3 separate regions of the Homo sapiens genome follow, and regions 1 and 3 are each linked to region 2. The links are contacts of gene promoters, found by promoter capture Hi-C in blood cells and fetal thymus (Javierre and others, 2016). All regions are on one chromosome and are shown on one strand. Each heading gives the region's core, a stretch centred on a gene start or on the middle of the fragment in contact. The rest is flanking DNA. Distances are from core to core; before and after follow the strand shown. Region 1 overlaps LOC124901922 (a long non-coding RNA gene). Region 2 holds the start of INTS9 (integrator complex subunit 9). Region 3 overlaps KIF13B (kinesin family member 13B).

What was found. The method cuts DNA at HindIII sites, captures the fragments that hold promoters and counts their contacts. A CHiCAGO score of 5 or more calls a contact.
Region 1: a contact is called between a fragment that was not itself captured here and the fragment with the promoter of INTS9 in region 2, in 1 of 17 cell types (endothelial precursors). The highest score is 5.4, in endothelial precursors.
Region 3: a fragment that was not itself captured here is called in contact with the fragment with the promoter of INTS9 in region 2 in 7 of 17 cell types (fetal thymus, naive CD4 T cells, non-activated CD4 T cells and 4 more); the score reaches 7.4 in fetal thymus.

Annotation. Positions count from the first base shown.
Region 1 is chr8:29,315,244-29,318,336 of GRCh38, reverse strand. The region is part of intron 1 of LOC124901922 (a long non-coding RNA gene); the gene reads left to right. Among named protein-coding and RNA genes, the nearest start is that of DUSP4, 34 kb to the left of the region's middle. The HindIII fragment of the contact is 3,002 bases long and covers 35-3,036 here.
Region 2 is chr8:28,888,389-28,891,664 of GRCh38, reverse strand. INTS9 (integrator complex subunit 9) reads left to right here and starts at 1,696. Exons shown (of 17, transcript NM_018250.4): 1 at 1,696-1,791. The coding sequence starts at 1,783. HMBOX1 (homeobox containing 1) reads right to left here and starts at 1,270. Exons shown (of 10, transcript NM_001135726.3): 1 at 987-1,270. RefSeq lists a silencer at 1,028-1,147 and enhancers at 800-1,356, 1,518-1,717, 1,357-1,913. The HindIII fragment of the contact is 2,854 bases long and covers 1-2,638 here.
Region 3 is chr8:29,258,387-29,261,558 of GRCh38, reverse strand. The region is part of intron 1 of KIF13B (kinesin family member 13B); the gene reads left to right. Among named protein-coding and RNA genes, the nearest start is that of KIF13B, 3.1 kb to the left of the region's middle. The HindIII fragment of the contact is 3,145 bases long and covers 1-2,849 here.

The DNA.
Region 1 (3,093 bases), core at 286-2,785, 430 kb before region 2:
GTAACAGCAGAAATAAAGGTCAAGTTTGCAAGCTTAGCATCCCTTTTAGGCTGATAGTTAAGATACTCCTGAGGAATGAGAGTAACACACTTACCATGTGCTATTGTGGAAAAACAAAGAGGGGATTACTAAACAATAAAATCAAGGAGTCATTAAGTTTAATCCATCCCAAATTTTCAGTTAAGGGGTATGACAGGGACACCTATCGACCTCCTGTCCAAGAAGTATCATTAGATAACAAAGGCAGGTCAGCATCCCACTGTGTAATAACATTAAAAACAAGGGGATTTAGAATATGACTCCAATAAACATGTTCTTGAGCTGATCTCACTTGGCAAAGGACAAGAATTACCAACCAGCCCAACATCTGTGTCTGTCTTACTTTTCTCAGAAGTTTCCCCAATTACCGCCAGTTACATAAGAAACTGATTCTCTGCAGTTGCAGGGGCCTCCACAGCGGCAAGCCGGATAGTTGCCTGTTGGTCCAATTTCTTTAGCGGTCCCCAGGTAATGTCAGGTGCCTTCTGAGTCATCACCGTCATTGTCAGTCAATTCTCCAATGACAGGTCCTATTCTAGAGAAGAGAGCCCCATATTCCCCCTTTTTTGTTTGTTTGATGAGTTTGTTTAATAACTGGTTGAGTTATAAGGAATACCAGTTTTGTGTTGTATGTGCCAAAGTTGCAATACATGTGCAAATCGAGCACTAAGATAGCAAGGTCTATTATCAGTTTTAATAGTTTGTGGAAGACCTAAAGTCATAAGAGATTCAAAAAGATGAGCAATTGCATCTTCAGTTTATTTCTCCAGTCCAGGGGGTAGCATGTATTAAGCCTGTATAAGCGTCTACGGTAACTTGGAGAAATTTGAAACGTCCAAAGGATGGATACTGAGTAACATCAGTTTGCCAAATAACATTAGGCACCAGACCTCGTGGGTTGGTACCAAGCCCTAAGGAAAAGGGGGAAAGAGAATGTCATTGGCAATCAGGACAAGTTTTAATAATCATGAGAGCTTGAGCAAGTGTCAAATGAAACTGTTGTTTAAGACTGTGGGCGTTCTAATGAAAAAAAAAACAATGATCAGCTTGAGCTTGCAAAAAGGCAGGAGACTCTGCAAACCACATCTGTGTTTGTACCAGAGCATCAGCTCGAAGGTTCCCTTCTGATAAGGACTAGATAGCCCAGAATGAGAGCAAATATGTGTGATGTAAAGAGGGTGATGACAGGCACAGAGGAGCTCTTGTGCTGTAAGAAACAAAGCTAGTAGGGTTTCATTAGTAATGCCCTTCGCATGTGCAAGATCTAAATCAGTAATACTACACCACATAAGAGGAATCACTTTATCATCATATTTATGTCATGGTGAGGAAAAGTTTGTAAGGCCAATATGAGGGCACCTAACTCCGCCTGTTGCGTAGTTTTAAAACGTTCCTGGATTTTGTGCTGCCAGTTCTGCGTGGCATCTTGCCACACTATAGTTGCCTTTCCAGTTTTTCCTGAACCATCTGTAAAGACAGAAGTGGCGTGAAGCAAGGGCTCAGAGACAACATAAATACAAATTTAACAGGCACAGTTTGTAAAAAGTTCAGGAGTTTAGAGGCTGGTCAATGAAAGCTGATATTACCAATAAAGTCAGTCATTGCTACTTGCCAATCAAGATCACAAGCTAGGAGAGTATGAAATTGTTTCTTGTTTAACAGTAGGAAAAGAGTAGTGGGGTTATTTTGGCCATATGCCCAGTTAGGCCACAATTATAATACGTGGCCCCAGTCAACATTGCAGCAAAGGTCTGAGCCAGATGGGTTGTAGTGCCTATATTCTGGCACACTTTAATAAACACGCTGATTTCAGTGGCAGTGGCTCGGACTGGAGTTATTGCTGCCTGACAATCCTTATTTGCATTTTCAAAAGCCAATTACAACATAAGAAGTTTGGCAGCTTTAGGATAGGGTGCCTGTTTTTTTATTGCAGCCTGCAATCAGTTGATAAATTCAATGTATGTTTCTGTGGCACCCTGTTTAACTATCATAAAGGAACCCTGGGATTGTCTTATGGGTATTTTTTATGCTTGTATTGTTAGCTGTGAGCATTGAGGAAATAGACGGCTATCTGCCTGAGCCTAAGCCTGAGCCTGAGTTGAAGCAAAAGGCCCTGTTCCCAATAGCATATCAAGTTGCATGGGGATATTATTATCCAAATTGTGTAAGGATTGCTACACGGCTAAATCACTGGACTCACTCCACCACACAGTATATTCAGCAGGTGAAACCAAAAGTTTTAGTAAAGTTTTCCAGTCATGTGGAGTCATCTTATAACCATTTCCCAAAGCCTCAATCATCCCCTGCGTAAAGGGTGAATGTACACCATTTTCATGAATACTTTTCTTTAACTCTTCAAAGGCAGTAAAAGGCAAACTCTCATGACGTCTCCTGTTGTTTTGAACAATAACAAGGAATGCGCCAAAAAGCGCCTCAGAGTCTCCCTTCCGAAGTCCCTCTTGGAGGCCCCCGAGGCCCCCGTCTACTAAGACTGACCGAGGTCTTATCCAAGAACCATCTCTTGGGCGGCCTCCAATCTCCTCAAGGCGGATGGGAGGCGCTGTTGGCTGAATGGGGCCAACGGATGCAGGTCCCTTTAAGGGTGGAGGAAAGGAGGGCAATGACTTTTCTATAGGGGAAGGAAAAGGCTCCGGTCTGTCCTCATCCTCACTAGCAAAAATCTCTTCTTTAGCCCCCATAGAAGGGAATGAAGAGTGGGGAGGAGTCTCTCCCTGTTGTCTTGGTTCCTGTTTTTCCTTCTCCTTTAAATCTCCTGAATTCCCTTCAGGCGGAGAAGATGGGCAGCCTGACTCACCGCAATCCGGCAGAAAAAGAGGCTACAACGCGGAGCGTACCAGCGCTCAGGTGGTCAAAATAGTTAAAATGGCCTTGCTCATATCCTCTTTCCGGGCAGCGGACTACCTGCACCCATAAATAATTCTAAGGTTCCTTGATCAGGAAACAGAGGGCATTCCTGCCGAATTAAAAACAAAAGCTTGTGTAGAGCTCCAGGCTCTACAGTGCACTGGATAGCCTTAAGTAGCTGTTGCACTG
Region 2 (3,276 bases), core at 447-2,946:
AGTTCCTCCTGCTACGAAAATAAGTCGCCCTATCTCCAGATACATAACAGACATTCCGTCTCCTTAGTAGACACACACAGACGCGTACACAATCCAGCACTCCCGACCCCCACCCCAGGCCCCCCGAATCTTCAGCAATTATTCATCTAATTCACACGAAGACAAGATACCTCTACCTACTGTTTCGGGGTGAAGGTGGGTGGAGGACGCCTTTCAAAGTAGCCCCAATAGTGTAACCAAAACACGGTTCCGGAATAAAATATTAAGAAACACTTTTCCTTTCCCACCTATCTACCGACTTGAGGATGCAAAAAATCCATCTCCACATCACACCATCTCTACAGTTCTCGTGGCTGGAGTTTGGGGTGGAGATTCGTCCAGGGGAGGGGGCGGAGGCGAGTGGCAGAGTGTGAGCGGGCGACGGGACACAAGCGAGTTGTTGAGCCCGGCCGCCTCGCACCACGTCGCCAGCCCAAACGCCCAGCACCAGGACCTCACGCCCGCCCCTCAGCCCAGGCCCAGAGCGAGCGAGGACTCGCGCTGTCTAACTTCCCATCTACAGACACCGCTCCAAGACGAGCAGAGCACACAAGTACACGTCACACAGTTTAAACACACTTACACACCCCAAACAAACCAACACACCTGCAAATCACCTCACAGTTTCCAGAACTCCACACCGGAGACCCCACCTCCAGGATTCAAACCTTCCGCTCATCGTAGAGGAAACCAGAAGAGTTGGGGGGCAGTCGACGCCTTTCCAGGACCGGACCCCACGAACTGCCCCACCCCACAGCCCGCGTCTGGGTCACCCACTCGGAAGCCCCCTGCTTCCTCCCTCCTCTCAATCCGGCCGCTTACGAGACCCATCCCCAGCGTCCGCTCACTTCCTCCCCAAAACCCCTCCAAAAAAATTGTTTTAAGTGAAGAGAAAGAAGTGAGGAAAGAGACTTGAGGTAGTCCGGCTTCAAAACCGCTCGACTCACCTCAGAATCCTCGCTGAGTTCTCTCCGCCCGGCACAGCCCCCTCCCCAACGTCCCAGTACGAAGGGCTGAGATAGGGAGGAGGGAAGGCGGGAGGGGGAGGGGTGTCTTCCGCGTGGGGCGCCCGTCGGGAGGGGACTGGGGAGGGGTTGAGGCCGGCGCAGGAAGAGGAGAAGGGGGAGGGGAGGCCCCTATCTCCCAGTCTCCCCCTGAAAAACCTCCCTTGTCTCAATCACATCAGACTGACTGTCTTTGTCTGGCTGACAACCGCCATATTGATATCAACAGCCCCTCTCCCACCTGCTGCCGCCGGGCGTCCCTGGGAGTTGTAGTTCCTGCCTCCCCTGAGAAAAATTGCGGAGCCCGGCGCCTAGAGGGCCAAGGGAACTACAACTTCCGGCAAGCCCCGTGCCCATCCGCCTTCCCTTTGGGAGGAGGGAAAGGGGAGTCGGAGCCGTCGGGACTACACATCCCAGAACACCATGGGCCCCAGGCCCGTAAGGAAGACATGATATCATGCTGGGGTGGAGAGGGAGGATGCATTGGCGGCTGGGATGAATTTGAGCTGACGGAAGGAGGCGTTCGGAGAGGAAAGGGAGGAAAAGGAAAGGCGACCACAGTTCCCATGATGCCTGGAGGGGAGACTACATTTCCCATTATTCCCCTGGAAGGGACGTGAGGATGAAAGACTGCAAGTCCCGCGATGCTCTCGGCTGGCAGGTGGCGGAGATTGCACCGGAAGACGCTTCCTGGGTTTGAGGAGTTCAGTGACTGCTATTGAACCACCAAAAGTCCATTATGAAACTGGTGAGTCTTCGCTCCTAGGTCAGAGGGCAAAGGTGATGCTATAACCTTTTGGACCTCTTTTTTTCCTACGTTGGGCAGGGAATCGTCGCACGGGAGGGGTAGCAATTATTGAGCTGGAAAGTGGAGTGGGCTAAGGAAAGCTGCTTTTTGTTGTTGAGAAGGTTTGAATTCCCTCTCCCCCACCCCATCCCTCCCAGGAGGTCTTTTTTCACTCGTTAGTGGGTCTTTTTGTTCAGACAAGAGGTTGACTGTCACAGTCCTTCGCCCATGAACTCTGTGGGCTCTGTTAACCAGGTTTGGACGTCCTGGTTCCCACGTGAGGGTTATAATAGGCTGTTAACAATCCGTTTCCATTCGATTGGCGCTTGAGTATCCTGTCTCCCTACTGTTGTTGAGACTGGCTAGATTTAAGCAGACAGTAAAAAACATCCAGCAGAACGTAATCACTTATTAAATATCCTGTTATATAGACTCCTCACTGCCCTTGGAATTCAGGACGAGGTCAGAGTGTGGAGAAGTTGAGTCTTAAACCCTGCATGGGATTTAGATGGGCAGAGAAGTGTTATATGGTATTCCATTCTAAGACTGTAGGGACTTCATGAGCCAAGGCTGAATGAAGCGTGCTCGGTATACCTGAAGTCTTAACATCACACAGCTCAAGCACCTGGTTCATGGAGGCTCCTCAGACCTTTGATTTGAGCCATTTGACTCATTGTGCACACAAGTCTAACTAGTTTATTCCAACTCGATTCAATTAGTTAATAACATAGTGTAGAAAGGCAGGTGTGAAACACTGTTTCTCAACCTTTTAAAACCCATATTTGTGCAGCCAAGTTATTGTCAAGCTTTACTTGAGGCAGGAGAATCGCTTGAACCCGGGAGGCAGAGGTTGCAGTAAGCCAAGATCGCGCCACTGCACTCCAGCCTTGCAACAGCGCGAGACTCTGTCTCAAAAAAAAAAAAAGTTTATTTTTTACCATTTATATAATTATCTGAACATGCTTTGCCAAACCACACAACACACCTACCCTCATCTTGATAATCATTGTGCTACAGGCATATATTCTGCAAAGCCAGCTGTTTTCTGCGAAGTCAGAGAAAGTATTAAAAGTGGATTCAATTCCGAAATTGTCCCCGTATAAATCTGTTTATATAAGGGGAAGGATGCGGGTCACTAAACCTTGAGAATAGCAACTTACCCCTGGGTCAGTGTGTTACACATTTAATAATGCAGAATTAAAAGTCATAGCCGTTGCCCTACAGAAGCATGCAACCTAAGAAGAAGATAGAAAAGTAAACCAAAGTTATTATTTATTTATTTAGAGACAGGGTCTGGCTTTGTGGGGCCCAGACTGAAGTGCAGTGGCGCGTTCTCAGCTCGCTGCTACCTCCACCTTTCGGACTCAAGCGATCCTCTCGCCGCGTCAGTCTCCCCATATAGCTGGGAATACAGGCGCGCACCACTGCACCCTGCTTATTTTTTTT
Region 3 (3,172 bases), core at 28-2,527, 370 kb before region 2:
CAATAATTTAAAGAAAGAAGCCAAATGAAACATAACTTATCTGGGAATTGATTCTGAAAGGATGGTTTCAGCACATTCTTAAAATTTCCTTTTCACAAAAAACTTGGAAATGTCAGTGCTAAAAAGAGGCCGCTAACCAACCACCACAAAAGACATCTCAGATATTTAGAGCCCTTTCCCTCTCCCTTTCCCCATTGGTTTCACTTTTTGAGGGAAATTCTTATGCTTTTCTCTTATAAATTGCCATTGATAAGGTTGTAATAAACATCAGAGTTTAGAGGAAGGCAAAGAATAATAGTTTTAGCTGTGGAACGGATGTGAGCTGATCCTTGGGTTCAACAATCATTTTGAAATTGAGGTTTACCCATAGATTCCATTAGCCTATATAGAGAAGTGCATTATTTGGTGTAAAGTACCTCCTGTGTTCACTTAGTGCCCATTCTTAGCCTTATATTTCCTGACGTGCATGTGGACTTCTTTTTTCAGTGATTACCACACATAAATTTGTTCTTTTCCATTTTTGTTATGAAGTAATTGTTCACATAAATATAAAGGTTATTATGGAATACAGTGTGGTGGGATTGTAAATCCAGTGATTTTTAAAAATTGGTGTCCAAAGTTTGTATAAAAAGACTAAAACAGGCCAGGCACGGTGGCTTACGCTTATAATCCCAGCACTTTGGGAGGCCGAGGCGGGTGGATCACCTGAGGTCAGGAGTTCGAGACCAGCCTGCCTAACATGGCAAAACCCTGTCTCTACTAAAAATACAAAAAATTAGCCGGGCGTGGTGGTGGACGCCTGTAATCCCAGCTACTAAGGAGGCTGAGGCGGGAGAATAGCCTGAACCCAGGAGGCGGAGGTTGCAGTGAGCCAAGATCGTGCCACTGTGCTCCACCCTGGGCGACAAGAGTGAAACTCTGTCTCAAAAAAAAAAAAGACTAAAACAAAACCATATTTCTTTCCAGTAATTTCCTTTTTTTTCTTCCTTGTATGATCTGTAGGAACCTTTCCAGTAATTTTGAAAAGAATATTACTTTGAACAGTTATTAGTATTATGTAATACTGTATAATTATGACAAAGAGTAAAACTTGAGTCCTAATAGTTTCTATCATATAGGTGCCGGAAGCAACCTTATAAATCGCTATCTATAAAAGAGGACGGGGATGAGAATGGGTTACTGTGATGATGTAGTTTTACTGTGTAGACTCTGATATTTGGAATCACATTAGCTATCTTTTGAGGAAAATCTGAAAATTTCCAGAAAACTCTGGTGTATTAAGTTCTTGTGTGATTCAGTGGTTGTGCTTAGGTGTTTGGAGTTTTAAGGTGGTTAGCTGATTTATTATTTAACAGTTATCCTCGAAGTGAGAGTATTTTAGTCTTTCTGCTAAACTGTATGTGGGTTTGGGAACCTTAGTTATTTGAAGGTTAAGCATTAGGCCCTAATTCAGTAACAGGAAGAGTTGTAATGGCTAATTTGTCAGAAATATTTGTCTAGTCATACATTTATTTTAACATTCCACTAACAAAAGGAAAAAGAAAAAGAAAAAAGTTCACATACTTTCTTCATCCTAACAGCTTTTCATTTCCATGCCAGTTTGTGCTCACACGTGTATGTAATTTTACATAATTTTAATATTACAACCTTTATTTTGCCTTTCTTCATCTGAGATGCAAAGCTAAACAACTAGAGAAAAGGGTAAATTTTTGTCACAAGATCTTCAAGTTCTATTTGCAGATATCGTTTGTTTTCCAGTGTTGTTGTTCAGACTGTACAGCTAAACAGATAATTCTTGTGTGCTTCCATGTGCCGCACAGAACACCCATTCATACATTATTAACCCGTCTAATCATTACAGGAGCTGAAAGTTCTGTAGCCGTAATTGGTGGGATTAGTTAGATCAGCAACATTCTCCTTTCCAGGAATTTGATGTTTTCTAACTTTAGGTGGCTTAAAAAACATTTAATAGGTAAGCAAACATTGATTGAGTGCCTGCCAGGTATCTGGCTTATATTAGATAGGATGAGATCTTAATGCTTTTCCTCAAGGGATTTCCTGTGTGTAAATCTGTATAAGATCAACTACCAAAATAAGTAAATATCTATAAAAGGTGTTTGGAATACCTTTGTTACCTACCTAGCCTAAGGGGGTAGAACCGGGAAACGAAAGAAATGAAGATAGAAACAGTGAAATAGATTATTTCAGGTGTTAGGGAGAATGGACAAGAAATTTATTTCAGGAGATATTTCAAATGAGTTTACTTGGCATTTTCCAATACTTGATGTGGTGAAAGACACAGAAGTATGTAATAATGTCTAATAGAGTCAATGTAGAGTCAGTGCCTTGGTAATCATGATCTAGTATCTCAATGGAGGGACTATTATACAGCGATTAAAATGATGACAGTCAAAACCATTTAACAAGGAAGATCGTTTTCTCTGTTAGTGGAAAAAGAATGTAAAGCTGTACGTGTAACTGATCAAATCTATTATTATTACTATGTAAAAATGTATACAGGAATGGGCAAGAGCTAGAAAGAAACATGAAAAAGTGAAATTGATTGTTCTTGTTAGGGGGATTTTACTTCCTAAAAGTTTTCTTAGGGTTGCCTGTTACCATCATATTCAGTTTCTTAAAGCATGCTTTATGGTTCATGCCTGTGAGGAAATGACTGTCATGGGCTTGAAAAGAAAATGCCTGTGAAAAGATTAGATTAAAAGGTAAACAGCTGTAGCAGGCTGCTAGTTACTAAGTGCCAGGTGAATGACAGGGAAATAAGGGAATCGAGAGGAGTTTAGACTTCACTGAGGAGGGTGAACTTTGGTTGGACTTCCAGGGAGGAAGCTTATGATGTGAGCACGGGAGAGGGGATGGCATGTATTCTTTGAGGAGGAAGTATGGCCTGAGAGTGAGGACACAGAGACTAGAATGAGTAAAGCAGGTTTAGGCAGCAGAGATGAGATCTGCCTGCCAGAATGGAGATTCTGTGAGGATAGCTAGAGAATGATGGGACAGGAAAGGTCAGGTGGATTGCAGGAAGCCCTGAAAGCAGCCAGGCCAGAAGTCCGGACCTAGGGTGGCTGGTCCACGCACTCTGTTTTGCTTCTTGGGACCTTGTATGGGGCTTGGACACAAACACAACGGGGAAAGATTGCTAGATCCCAAAGCA